Regions from separate parts of the Homo sapiens genome. Here region 2 is linked to region 1. Evidence: promoter capture Hi-C in human tissues and cell types (Jung and others, 2019). All regions are on one chromosome and are shown on one strand. The core of a region is centred on a gene start or on the middle of the fragment in contact, and the rest is flanking DNA. Distances in the headings are between cores, read along the strand shown.

What was found. Contacts are between HindIII fragments. The study calls those that stand out against the background at their distance.
Region 2: a contact is called between a fragment that was not itself captured here and the fragment with the promoter of CBLN1 in region 1, in 2 of the 25 tissues and cell types used here (H1 embryonic stem cells and aorta).

Annotation. Positions count from the first base shown.
Region 1 is chr16:49,279,726-49,286,257 of GRCh38, reverse strand. It overlaps CBLN1 (cerebellin 1 precursor), which reads left to right and starts at 4,420. Exons shown (of 3, transcript NM_004352.4): 1 at 4,420-5,056; 2 at 5,216-5,335. The coding sequence starts at 4,793. It overlaps SYNAGE (synapse stability regulating cerebellar lncRNA), which reads right to left and starts at 4,196. Exons shown (of 4, transcript XR_933530.4): 1 at 4,026-4,196. RefSeq lists silencers at 3,767-3,866, 4,237-4,346 and an enhancer at 4,699-5,316. The HindIII fragment of the contact is 18,550 bases long and covers 1-6,532 here.
Region 2 is chr16:49,228,525-49,234,577 of GRCh38, reverse strand. No RefSeq gene overlaps it. Among named protein-coding and RNA genes, the nearest start is that of CBLN1, 50 kb to the left of the region's middle. The HindIII fragment of the contact is 3,786 bases long and covers 1,091-4,876 here.

The sequences.
Region 1 (6,532 bases), core at 3,171-5,670:
ATTTTATAGTCTAGTTCCAGGCATTAATTTGAAATAACCTTGGAATCCTAAATCTAACACCCTTCGGAACAAAGTAGCTTTTCTCTTCTGCTTTATGAGCAAATGGACTAAATACTAGGGAATGGTACTGTCTGGGCCTTTGAACCAAGATTGAAAGAGATGAAATCCTATATGATATGTATAAACATTAGAGAATCCATTTTGATTTAATAAAAGGTTGAATTTGTTCTATATCCTGTGAGAAAATGGTTCCCTTTTCCTGAAAATGTTACCTCATTCCAACAATAGAAAGTTGGTTTTTTTCCAGGGTGTGGTGTTGGCGGGGGACAGAGTTGCCATGAATATGGCATCTATGAAGACTGCTGTTATATTCATTTCTCAAAATGCACTGTGGTAGGAAATTCAGAACGCAGTGAGAGAAAATAAATGTTTGACTTCAAAATATAAGGCCGCATTTAAAGCAGAAGGTAAAGTATAGAACAGTTGACAGTATAAATTCTTTATCTGCAATCTTGCAGTTCCCTAAATCTCTGTAACACATCACTTTTAAAAGCCTCAGATAAGTGGTTCTATAATAATTTACCAATAATTCAACCCCTCAAAAGTCTTAGCAAGTTAAACCTTATAATCTTACATTTTAGAAATGACCCAACTTGATCCTTTTATTCTTCAGAATATCTCTCTCAAATTTTCATTTGTTTTTCATTAATTGATGAATAATGAGACATTTTAGGTACCTGTCCACAAAGAAATGAAATTTTCACTTTCCAGGAACCTAACAAATGAAAAGATAGAAATCAATTCCAACAGAATATTACCAAAGAAATCTTTTAGAATGGACTGTTAAAATTATTTATTTGTATTTATCTGGCTCTACTATTTGTGGTACATTTCCACTTCAAAGCTAAACCTCAAATAACATCATAGTGAGTGGTTGACTTCATGTTTAACTGAGATCTTGAAGACTGAAAAAGACCACGACAAACACACATCTATTTTCTTGGCTACTGCATCCGTGTTCATCACCATTCTGATAGTCTGCAATGTATTGCAGCTCACCCTTTGGGAAGGACTAAAGTAGACATCTGTTTGTTCTGCTTACTCAGCATTCCTACCCTAATTTTCCTTTGGAGAACCCCTTTATTCTAGACCACGTGAAGCTAATGCCAAACCCCATTCCAGGGGATGCACCTGAATCCAACCTCCATCATCTAAACAGTGCCTTCTCCACGTTCAGAGAAGAGCAAGTGACTCAAACTGCCCTCATAAGAACAGACCTGGGACTTCTGCTGCAAATATTGAAGAGTAAGTACTCTTTTTTCTTGCTAGGACTAAGCTGGTAGTACCTTCTATGAGGCTATCATATGGAAACAACTTGTCTGAAAATGAAGCCACAACTAGAAAACAGATCCTGGTAACCCGGATTGATGGATCCAGCCCTACCTTAAATGGCAAGACCTAACCCGAGGCTTTTTGCATCAACCAATAAAGTCCTTAAGCCAGTTTGAGTTGGTTTTGTCACTTGCAGCTAAAAGAATTCTGACTCTAACAATGTGACAATAGCAAAAATAAACATAACTGCTTTTGAGGTTTCTAATGGATTTTCCTCCCTATATACATGATTTCATTTAATCCTCACAATTCAGGAAAGCACATATCTATTAACATTAAATTAATATTCATTATTTTGAACACATGCTATGTGGATAAGGGATGAGGAAAGCCAAGGAAGTAATCAACGTGAAATCTCACTTATATGGGAGGGAAGTGGAGGTTACATATCTCAGGGCACTTAACAGATATCATCAAATGAAAGAATAAACAGTGTGTGGGAGAGGCAGTAGGTGATTCTTCATCAATTCCTGGATGAAAAATTAGGAGATAATGAACTCCGAACAGGCAGCCTAATGAGAATGGCTCAAGCAACAGGACATAGAGAGGGAGTTAGGTTAGACATGGGGTTCTTGGGAATTTTCACCTCGTGGGGGGGCGGGGGGGTCGTGCAGCTGTTGTCAGTGGGAAAGGGAAAAAGGAAAAGGCTGAGTTTGGAAGGCAGGGAGGGAGGAGACAATGTGAGTCAGTGAAAAAGGGCCCTTAGAATGACAAGTCTGGACCAGAGAGAGGCTAAGACTGAAAATACAAGTTGGGTAACCACTGGCATACAGATGGCAGTTCAGGCTTGGGCACTGCCCACCAGAGCCTCAGCATGAAGAGAAGAGGGGGAGGCTGGCCACCACCTCCCTCTAGGTAATCGTCATCCTGATGCTGAGCTCCTGAAAACAGGCTCTTTCACTCGCCCCATCTCTTGCTCTTGATTGCAACCCGGCATTCAGGAGGCACCCTGTAATATCTGTGGAGTGACCGACAACACAGCGCCAGGGCACTGAGAAGATCCCAGGGCGCCAGGGACTGGTTCTACAAGGGTGCCCCTCCCGGTCCCCTCCAGCGCGCCGCCAGAGCTGCCAGTCTTGGCTGCTACACGGGAGGCAGCCTCATTATGCAGCTCTCACCTCTTAAATTAGTTCATGCTCTCACATTAGGTGTAATCACAGCTTGCAACGCTTTCTGGGGATGTCTCAGAAAGATCTGAGTTGAAAAAATATTTTTGTGTCATTTTAATTTAAAGTAAAATTGCTGCTTCTTCCCCGCCCCTTTCTTTCCTCCTGGCCCACCCAGCGACCCTGGCCGGCCGTGCTCAACGGGGGCGGGGGTCGGAGGTGAGATTTCCTCCACATAATTCCTTAAACAGCTATCAACTAAGTCTCAAAGAAAAAAAAAAGAGATCTAGAAGCAGAGACGTGGCTGCTGGCGATCCCAAAGCTGGTGTTCGCTCTTGGGGGAGAGCGTACCCTGGGGGAGGCCGGGAGGCCGGGCCAGAGGCTAGCCCAGAGGCAGAGGGCAGGAGCGCTCAGCCGGCGCCCCGCGTCTCTCCAGCTCCCGACGCTGCGCTGGCTCCGCTGAGCACGCCAGGATCAAGGTCGCCTGGTGGGGACCGGAGCGCCAGGAGCCTGTGGGAAGCGTTCCAGCCGGCCTCTGACTGGGATCCGGCGCCGCGTTTCTGCTTTGGACTTGACTGACAGGTCCCCCCGCCCTCCCGCCGCCCTACTACCAGCCTGGGTTCATCCTTCAGGGCTACGTCTACCGCACCCGGGCTGGAAAGCCTGGAGCGCGCCCTTCCTCTCCTCATCTTCTCAGCTCTCCTTTCTCCCTGCCACTTGGCAAAGCTGCATTTTGACTTTCACGTTTTGGACTACGTGTGTGTAGTTCCAAGTCCATGCGTGGCACGAAAATCCACTTAGGGTAAAAATTATTCTCGAAAAATCGCCCATCTCAGGATCTGGTGTCTACACTCAAGGCTAGGAGGTGCAGGTACGGGTGCGTAAAGCATGCCGTAAGGGTGCACAGTAAATAAAAAGTACGGATGCAAAATGTAAATTTTAAGTGCAAAACAGAAAAGCAGTACTCGTTGCCGCCCCGCACGCTGGGTTTTAAGGGGCACGAAGGTGGGCCTCGGCTGCTTTTGCTCAGCCCCGCGTCCTCAGCGCCCGGCCCAGTACCCGGTACTCCGTAGGGGTTCAATGATCTCCCCTGAATAAGTGAACGAATTAACAAATGAATGAATGACCGCTCGATCCGACCTCCGCGGCCGGCAGAGCAGTCGCTGGAGAGGCGGGAGAGAGCGAGAGGCCAAGCTCCACCATCGCGGCCGCCGGCTGGGGCAGAGGGACACGGAGACACTCGGCGCCCCGGCTCCGCACCGAGTCCCCGCGGTGAGTGCCCGCCCAGCAGCTCCCGGGCACCACGTGCGCCCGCCAGAGCCGCGCAGGCCCCGCCCCGCCGCGCGCGCACGCGCCCTGCACCCCGGCCGCCGGGACCCTGAGCCAGGCTCGCCCAGCGCGCCGGCTGCCCTCGCGCCCGCGCCCGCTGGGGGGCGCTCCCCTCCCAACGGGCGCGCCCACAGGCGGGCAGGCGACTCGCAGCCTCCAGCGATTCCACTCCCGACCCCGGGGCGCGCCGCCTCCTACCTGAGGGCCGACGAGTGGGGGCGGGCAGGAGGGCCGAGGGAGGCGGAACAGGATCGAGGCGCGAGGCGGGAGTCGAGAAAGCGAGCGGCCGAGGCGACTCTCAGTGCGCGGACGCGGGCGCGCGCCCGCGCTCCCTTCGTCGACTCACGGCGAGAGCCCAACCCTGCTGCCGCGCGCCACCCGCCTCGCCGCGCCTAATAACAACGGCGCCCGGGGTCAGGTGGCCGAGCGCGGACAGCGCCGCCATTGGCTCGGTGGGGAGCGCGGCGCGTCAGGATTGGCTGGGGGGCGTGGCCTCGGCCGGGGCGGGGGCAGGGCCTCGGAGGGAGGCGGGCCGGGAGGCGGCGGGGGCGGGGCCAGGCCGAGGTCCGCGCCTTTGTGCCCGGCGCGCGCTCTCCGCCCGCTCCGGCTGCAGCGCCGGCTGCATCAATAATTCAGAGCGGCGGCGGCGGCGGCAGCGGCGGGTGCGGGCAGGAGGCGGCGGCAGCAGCGGGACCGAGCAGCAGCGGCTATGCATCCAAGTGCGGCTGGGCAGCCGCGGCACCCCTGAGGCCCGGGAGGGGCTCCGGGAACACAGCGCGGAGGGGACGCTAGTCGCGGAGGGGACGCTAGTCCCGGAGTGCGAGGAAGAGGTGTAGTGTCCAGAGCGGCGGCGGCGGAGCTGCGCACGGAGCTGAGGAGGGGGCTTCGGAGCGGGACTGGGACGGGGGGGGCGGCTGGCGCGAGCAGCCCTGGGGGTGGGGGGCGGGGTGGGCGCCGGCGGCGCGATGCTGGGCGTCCTGGAGCTGCTGCTGCTGGGGGCTGCGTGGCTGGCGGGCCCGGCCCGCGGGCAGAATGAGACGGAGCCCATCGTGCTGGAGGGCAAGTGCCTGGTGGTGTGCGACTCCAACCCCACGTCCGACCCCACGGGCACTGCCCTGGGCATCTCTGTGCGCTCTGGCAGCGCCAAGGTGGCTTTCTCTGCCATCAGGAGCACCAACCACGAGCCGTCCGAGATGAGTAATCGCACCATGATCATCTACTTCGACCAGGTGAGTGTTCCTTCCTCCCGCGGCGTGCAGATTGGGCTGGTGAAGGAGGGATGGATGGAAGACCGATGCCCGGTCCTCTCCAAGGGCTCTGCGGAGGCGCGGGGACGACAGTCCGGGACCGATTCCTGCCCACTCCCCTTCGTTCCCGTCTCGTTATAGGTACTAGTGAACATTGGGAACAACTTTGATTCAGAACGCAGCACTTTCATCGCCCCGCGCAAAGGGATCTACAGTTTTAACTTCCACGTGGTAAAAGTCTACAACAGACAAACCATACAGGTCAGCCGACGCCTCGTGCCGGGCCCTGGCCCCGTAGGGGGGTTACTGGCCTCAGGGGTGCTCGGGCTGTCCGGAGGTGGTAGGCAGAAGTGGCGGCTGCATGTACTTCGGGCTGCTTGGAGGGACAGATAGCGGGGCCTCTCAGTTCTGTGGCTTCAACTGTCCTCTGCTTTCCCTGTCTCTGGCTCTTGGGATCCAGCCCCATCCCCCGAGAGACAGAATTTTCTGCTTCTGCCTTCCGGGCCTCTCCGAAGGGTTCCCTGGATTTCAGGGACTTCCTTGTAACGGCTGTTGTTAGCGCCCCAGACAGCTGCCGCTTGGGAAGCCTTCCCGGACTCCCCAGGAAGCACCGCGACAGTACACCCTACCCCTTGCCCCGGCTCAGAAGCCTGCGATGCGGCTTGCGTGCTTGTCTTCAGCACCACGGACGGGGCCCCCGTTTTCTCCCACTTGTCCCCAATCCCCACCCCGTGCGGACTGTGGGTTTTTGAGCTAGCAGCATTTAGCCCCGGAGGGTGAGGGGTAGAGAGAGGAGGGAGGGAGGGGGCGTAGTGCTACTCTCTCCCGGCTCCAGCCGTGTCCCAGCAATCACTCGCCGGCTCTCCGGGTCCCCAAAGATGTCCAGGTTTCCCTTGGGCGCCGAGAGAGGTGGGACGCACAGCTGGGGAGAGGGCGCGAGGCCCTTGGCTGACGGTGCCACCACAGGGGCAAAACCAGGCGGTGGCGGGCGCGGCTGGATGGGGGAGGGAATTGAGCCCGTGGTTTGGGGAGGAAATACATTGTGCCGCTCGGTGCGAGACTTCTAATCACAAATCACAGTGGCTTCTCCACTGTGTCCTGGCAGCTGGGTCCAGGAGGGATCAGGGGCTTTTTGTTTGTTCGTTTTTGTTTTTCCGGTAGCGCCAGAAGGAGCCTGAGTTGCTGGGTTTTTTTTGTTTGTTGTTTGTTTTTTGAGGCTGAGGGGAAACGGGAGAGAGGTCAAAGGTCTCAGGGCGCTAGAGCCACCTCATGGGTTTATTAAATTGGATCACAGAGCACAGTCGAGATTCGCTTGGCGCGCTCATTTGAGAAACTGGAATAAGAGCAACTCCCGTTTTGGGGACAGGCCCTTCCTGTCACCCAGATGTGTGGTCTTTCGCCCCACTGGAGCCTCAGCAGTAAGCTGCAAAGCCCCTTTTCCTCCATTCGCCCCCCCCA
Region 2 (6,053 bases), core at 1,734-4,233, 50 kb after region 1:
ACAAGAGAATGAGAACCTCTGATTTATTTGTTTTTATTTTTATGTTTAGGGCAGAGTTTCACTCTGTCACCCAGGCCGGAGTACAGAGGTGCAATCACATCTCACTGGAACCTCAAACTTCCAGGCTCAAGCAATTCCCCTACCTCAGCCTGCCAAGTAGCTGGGATGCCTGCCACCATGCCCTGTTAATTTTTAATTTTTTTTGTAGAGATGGGTCTTGCTATGTTGCCCAGGCTGGTCTCAAACACCGGGCCTCAAGTGATCCTCCTGCCTAGGCCTCCCAAAGCACTGGGATTACAGAGACGAGCCACCATGTCCAGCCTGACTTATCTTTTTTTATCTTTCTTTTTTTGTTATACTTTAAGTTTTAGGGTACACGAGTGCAACGTGCAGGTTTGTTACATATGTATACATGTGCCATGTTGGTGTGCTTCATCCATTAACTCATCATTTACATTAGGTGTATCTCCTAATGCTCTCCCTCTCCCCTCCCCACACCCCATGACAGGCCCCAGTGTGTGATGTTCCCCACCCTGTGTCCAAGTGTTCTCATTGTTCAATTCCCACCTATGAGTGAGAACATGTGGTGTTTGGTTTTCTGTCCTTGTGATAGCTCGCTCAGAATGATGGTTTCCAGCTTCATCCATGTACCTAGAAAGGACATGAGCTCATCCTTTTTCATGGCTGCATAGTATTCCATGGTGTATATGTGCTACATTTTCTTAATCCAGTCTATCATTGATGGACTTTTGGGTTGGTTCCAAGTCTTTGCTATTGTGAATAGTGCCACAATAAACATATGAGTGCATGTGTCTTCATAGCAGCATGATTTATAATCCTTTGGTTATATACCAGTAATGGGATAGCTGGGTCAAATGGTATTTCTAGTTCAAGATCCTTGAGGAATCACCACACTATCTTCCACAATGGTTGAACTAGTTTACTGTCCCACCAACAGTGTAGAAGTGTTCCTATTTCTCCACATCCTCTCCAGCACCTGTTGTTTCCTGACTTTTTAATAATCACCATTCTAACTGGTGTGAGATGGTATCTCATTGTGGTTTTGATTTGCATTTCTCTGATGGCCAGTGATGATGAGCATTTTTTCATGTGTCTGTTGGCTGCATAAATGTCTTCTTTTGAAAAGTGTCTGTTTATATCCTTTGCCCACTTTTTGATGGGGTTGTTTGATTTTTTCTTGTACATTTGTTTAAGTTATTTGTAGATGCTGGATATTAGCCCTTTGTCAGATGGGTAGATTGTAAAAATTTTCTCCCATTCTGTAGGTTGCCTGTTCATTCTGATGGTAGTTTCTTTTGCTGTGTAGAAGCTCTTTAGTTTAATTAGATCCCATTTGTCAATTTTGGCTTTTGTTGCCATTGCTTTTGGTGTTTTAAACATGAAGTCCTTGCCCATGTCTATGTCCTGAATGGTATTGCCTAGGTTTTCTTCTAGGGTTTTTATGGTTTTAGGTCTAACATTTAAGTCTTTAATCCATCTTGAATTAATTTTTGTATAATGTGTAAGGAAAGGATCCAGTTTCAGCTTTCTACATATGGCTAGCCAGTTTTCTCAGCACCATTTATTAAATAGGGAATCCTTTCCCCATTTCTTGTTTTTGTCAGGTTTGTCAAAGATCAGATGGTTGTGGATGTGTGTTATTATTTCTGAGGGCTCTGTTCTGTTCCATTGGTCTATATCTCTGCTTTGGTACCAGTACCTTGCTGTTTTGGTTACTGTAGCCTTGTAGTGCAGTTTGAAGTCAGGTAGCATGATGCCTCCAGCTTTGTTCTTTTGGCTTAGGATTGTCTTGGCAATGCAGGCTCTTTTTTGGTTCCATATGAACTTTAAAGTTGTTTTTTTCCAATTCAGTGAAGAAAGACATTGGTAGCTTGATGGGGATGGCAGTGAATCTATAAATTACCTTGGGCAGTATGGCCATTTTCACAATATTGATTCTTCCTATCCATAAGCATGGAACATTCTTCCATTTGTTTGTGTCCTCTTTTATTTTGTTGAGCAGTGGTTTGTAGTTCTTCTTGAAAAAGTCCTTCACATCCCTTGTAAGTTGGATTCCTAGGTTTTTTATTCCCTTTGAAGCAATTGTGAATGAGAGTTCACTCATGATTTGGCTCTCTGTTTGCTTATTATTGGTGTAGAGGAATGCTTGTGATTTTTACACATTGATTTTGTATCCTGAGACTTTGCTGAAGTTGCTTATCAGCTTAAGGAGATTTTGGGCTGAGATGATGGGGTTTTCTAAATATACAATCATGTCATCTGCAAACAGGGACAATTTGACTTCCTCTTTTCCTAATTGAATACCCTTTATTTCCTTCTCCTGCCTGATTGCCCTGGCCATAACTTCCAACACTATGTTGAATAGGAGTGGTGAGAGAGGGCATGCCTGTCTTGTGCCAGTTTTCAAAGGGAATGCTTCCAGTTTTTGCCCATTCAGTATGATATTGGCTGTGGGTTTGTCATAAATAGCTCTTATTATTTTGAGATACGTCCCATCAATACCTCGTTTATTGAGAGTTTTTAGCATGAAGGGCTGTTGAATCTTGTCAAAGGCCTTTACTGCAGCTATTGAGATAAACATGTGGTTTTTGTCTTTGGTTCTGTTTATATCATGGATTACGTTTATTGATTTGTGTGTGTTGAACCAGCCTTGCATCCCAGGGATGAAGCCAATTTGATCGTGGTGGATAAGCTTTTTGATGTGCTGCTGGATTCGGTTTGCCGGTATTTTATTGAGGATTTTTGCATTGATGTTCATCAGGGATATTGGCCTAAAATTTTGTTTTTTGTGTGGTGTGTCTGCCAGGCATTGGTATCAGGATGATTTTGGCCTCATAAAATGAGTTAGGGAGGATTCCCTCTTTTTCTACTGATTGGAATAGTTTCAGAAGGAATGGTACCAGCTCTTGTTTGTACCTCTGATAGAATTCAGCTGTGAATCCATCTGGTCCTGGACTTTTTTGGTTGGTAGGCTATTAATTATTGCCTCAATTTCAGAGCCTGTTATTGGTCTATTCAGGGATTCAAATTCTTCCTGGTTTAGTCTTGGGAGGGCGTATGTGTGCAGGAATTCATCCATTTCTTCTAGATTTTCTAGTTTATTTGTGTAGAGGTGTTTATAATATTCTCTGATGGTAGTTTGTATTTGTGTGGGATTGGTGGTGATATCCCCTTTATCATTTTTTATTGTGTCTATTTGATTCTTCTCTCTTTTCTTCTTTATTAGCCTTGCTAGCGGTCTATTAATTTTGTTGATCTTTTCAAAAAACCAGCTCCTGGATTCATTGATTTTTTGAAGGGTTTTTTGTGTCTCTATCTCCTTCAGTTCTGCTCTGATCTTAGTAATTTCTTCCCTTCTGCTAGCTTTTGAATATGTTTGCTCCTGCTTCTCTAGTTCTTTTAATTGTGATGTTAGGGTGTCAATTTTAGATCTTTGCTGCTTTCTCTTGTGGGTATTTAGTGCTATAAATTTCCCTCTACACACTGCTTTAAATGTGTCCCAGAGATTCTGATATGTTGTGTCTTTGTTCTCATTGGTTTCAAAGAACACCTTTATTTCTACCTTCGTTTCATTATGTACCCAGTAGTCATTCAGGAGCAGGTTGTTCAGTTTCCATGTAGCTGAGAAGTTTTGAGTGAGCTTCTTAACCCTGAGTTCTAGTTTGATTGCGCTGTGGTTTGAGAGACAGTTTGTTATAATTTCTGTTCTTTTACATTTGCTGAGGAGTGCTTTACTTCAAACTATGTGGTCAATTTTGGAGTAAGTGCAATGTGGTGCTGAAAAGAATGTACATTCTGTTGATTTGGGGTGGAGAATTCTGTAGATGTCTATTAGGTCTGCTTGATGCAGAGCTGAGTTCAATTCCTGAATATCCTTGTTAACCTTCTGTCTCGTTGATCTGTCTAATGTTGACAGTGGGGTGTTAAAGTCTCCCATTATTATTGTGTGGGAGTCTAAGTCTCTTTGAAGGTCTCTAAGGACTTGCTTTATGAATCTGGATGCTCCTGTATTGGGTGCATATATATTTAGGATAGTTAGCTCTTCATGTTGAATTGAGCCCTTTACCTTTATGTAATGGCCTTTTTTGTCTCTTTTGATCTTTGTTGGTTTACAGTCTGTTTTATCAGAGACTAGGATTGCAATCCCTGCTTTTTTTTGTTTTCCATTTGCTTGGTAGATCTTCCTCCATCCCTTTATTTTGAGCCTATGTGTGTCTCTGCATGTGAGATGGGTCTCCTGAATACAGCATACTGATGGGTCTTGACTCTTTATCCAATTTGCCAGTCTGTGTCTTTTAATTGGAGCATTTAGCCCATTTAAATTTAAGGTTGGTATTGTTACGTGTGAATTTGATCCTGTCATTATGATGTTAGCTGGTTATTTTGCTCGTTAGTTGATGCGGTTTCTTCCTAGCATCGATGGTTTTTACAATTTGGCGTGTTTTTCCAGTGGCTGGTACTTGTTGTTCCTTTCCATGTTTAGTGCTTCCTTCAGGAGCTCTTGTAGGGCAGGCCTAGTGGCGACAAAATCTCTCAGCATTTGCTTGTCTGTAAAGGATTTTATTTCTCCTTCACTTATGAAGCTTAGCTTGACTGGATGTGAAATTCTGGGTTGAAAATTCTTTTCTTTAAGAATTCTGAATATAGGCCCCCACTCTATTCTGGCTTGTAGAGTTTCTGCTGAGAGATCTGCTGTTAGTCTGATGGGCTTCCCTTTGTGGGTAACCAGACCTTTCTTTCTGGCTGCCCTTAACATTTTTTCCTTCATTTCAACTGTGGTGAATTTGACAATTATGTGTCTTGGAGTTGCTCATCTCAAGGAGTATCTTTGCGGAATTCTCTGTATTTCATGAATTTGAATATTGGCCTGCCTTGCTAGGTTGGGGAAGTTCTCCTGGATAATATCCTGAAGAGTGTTTTCCAACTTGGTTCCATTCTCCTTGTCATTTTCAGGTACACCATTCAGATATAGATTTGGTCTTTTCACATAGTTCCTTATTTCTTGGAGGCTTTGTTCCTTTCTTTTTACTCTTTTTTTTTCTAAACTTCTCTTCTGGCTTCATTTCATTCATTTGATCTTCAATCACTGATACCTTTTCTTCCACTTGATCGAATCAGCTACTGAAGCTTGTGCATGCATCACGTAGTTCTCGTGCCATGGTTTTCAGCTCCATCAGTTCATTGAAGGTCTTTTCTATGCTGTTTATTCTAATTAGCCATTCATCTAATCTTTTTTCAAGGCTTTTGGCTTCTTTGTGATGGGTTCGAACATCCTCCTTTAGCTCGGAGAAGTTTGTTATTACTGATCATCTGAAGCCTTCTTCTCTCAACTCATCAAAGTCATTCTCTGTCCGGCTTTGTTCCGTTGCTGGCAAGGAGCTGCATTCCTTTAGAGGAGAAGAGGCGCTCTGATTTTTAGAATTTTCAGCTTTTCTGCTCTTGTTTCTCCCCATCTTTGTGGTTTTATCTACCTTTGGTCTTTGATGATGGTGACGTGCAGGTGGGACTTTGGTGTGGATGTCCTTTCTGTTTGTTAGTTTTCCTTCTAACAGTCAAGACTCTCAGCTGCAGGTCTGTTGGAGTTTGCTGGAGTTCCACTCCAGACCCTGTTTGCCTGGGTATCACCAGTGGAGGCTGCAGAATGGCAAATATTGCAGAATGGGAAATGTTGCTGCCTGATCCTCCCTCTGGTAGCTTCATCTCAGAGGGACACCAGGCTGTATGAGGTGTCAGTTGGCCCCTTCTGGGAGGTGCCTCCTAGTTAGGCTACTTGGGGATCAGGGACCCTCTTGAGGAGGCAGTCTATCCATTCTCAGATCTCAAACTCTGTGCTGGGAGAGCCACTACTCTTTTCAAAGCTGTCAGACAGGGACATTTAAGTCTGCAGAAGTTTCTGCTGCCTTTTGTTCAGCTATGCCCCCAGAGATGGAGTCTACAGAGCAGGCAGGCCTCCTTGAGCTGCTGTGGGCTCCACACAGTTTGAGCTTCCTGGCCACTTTGTTTACCTACTCAAGCCTCCACAATGGCAGATG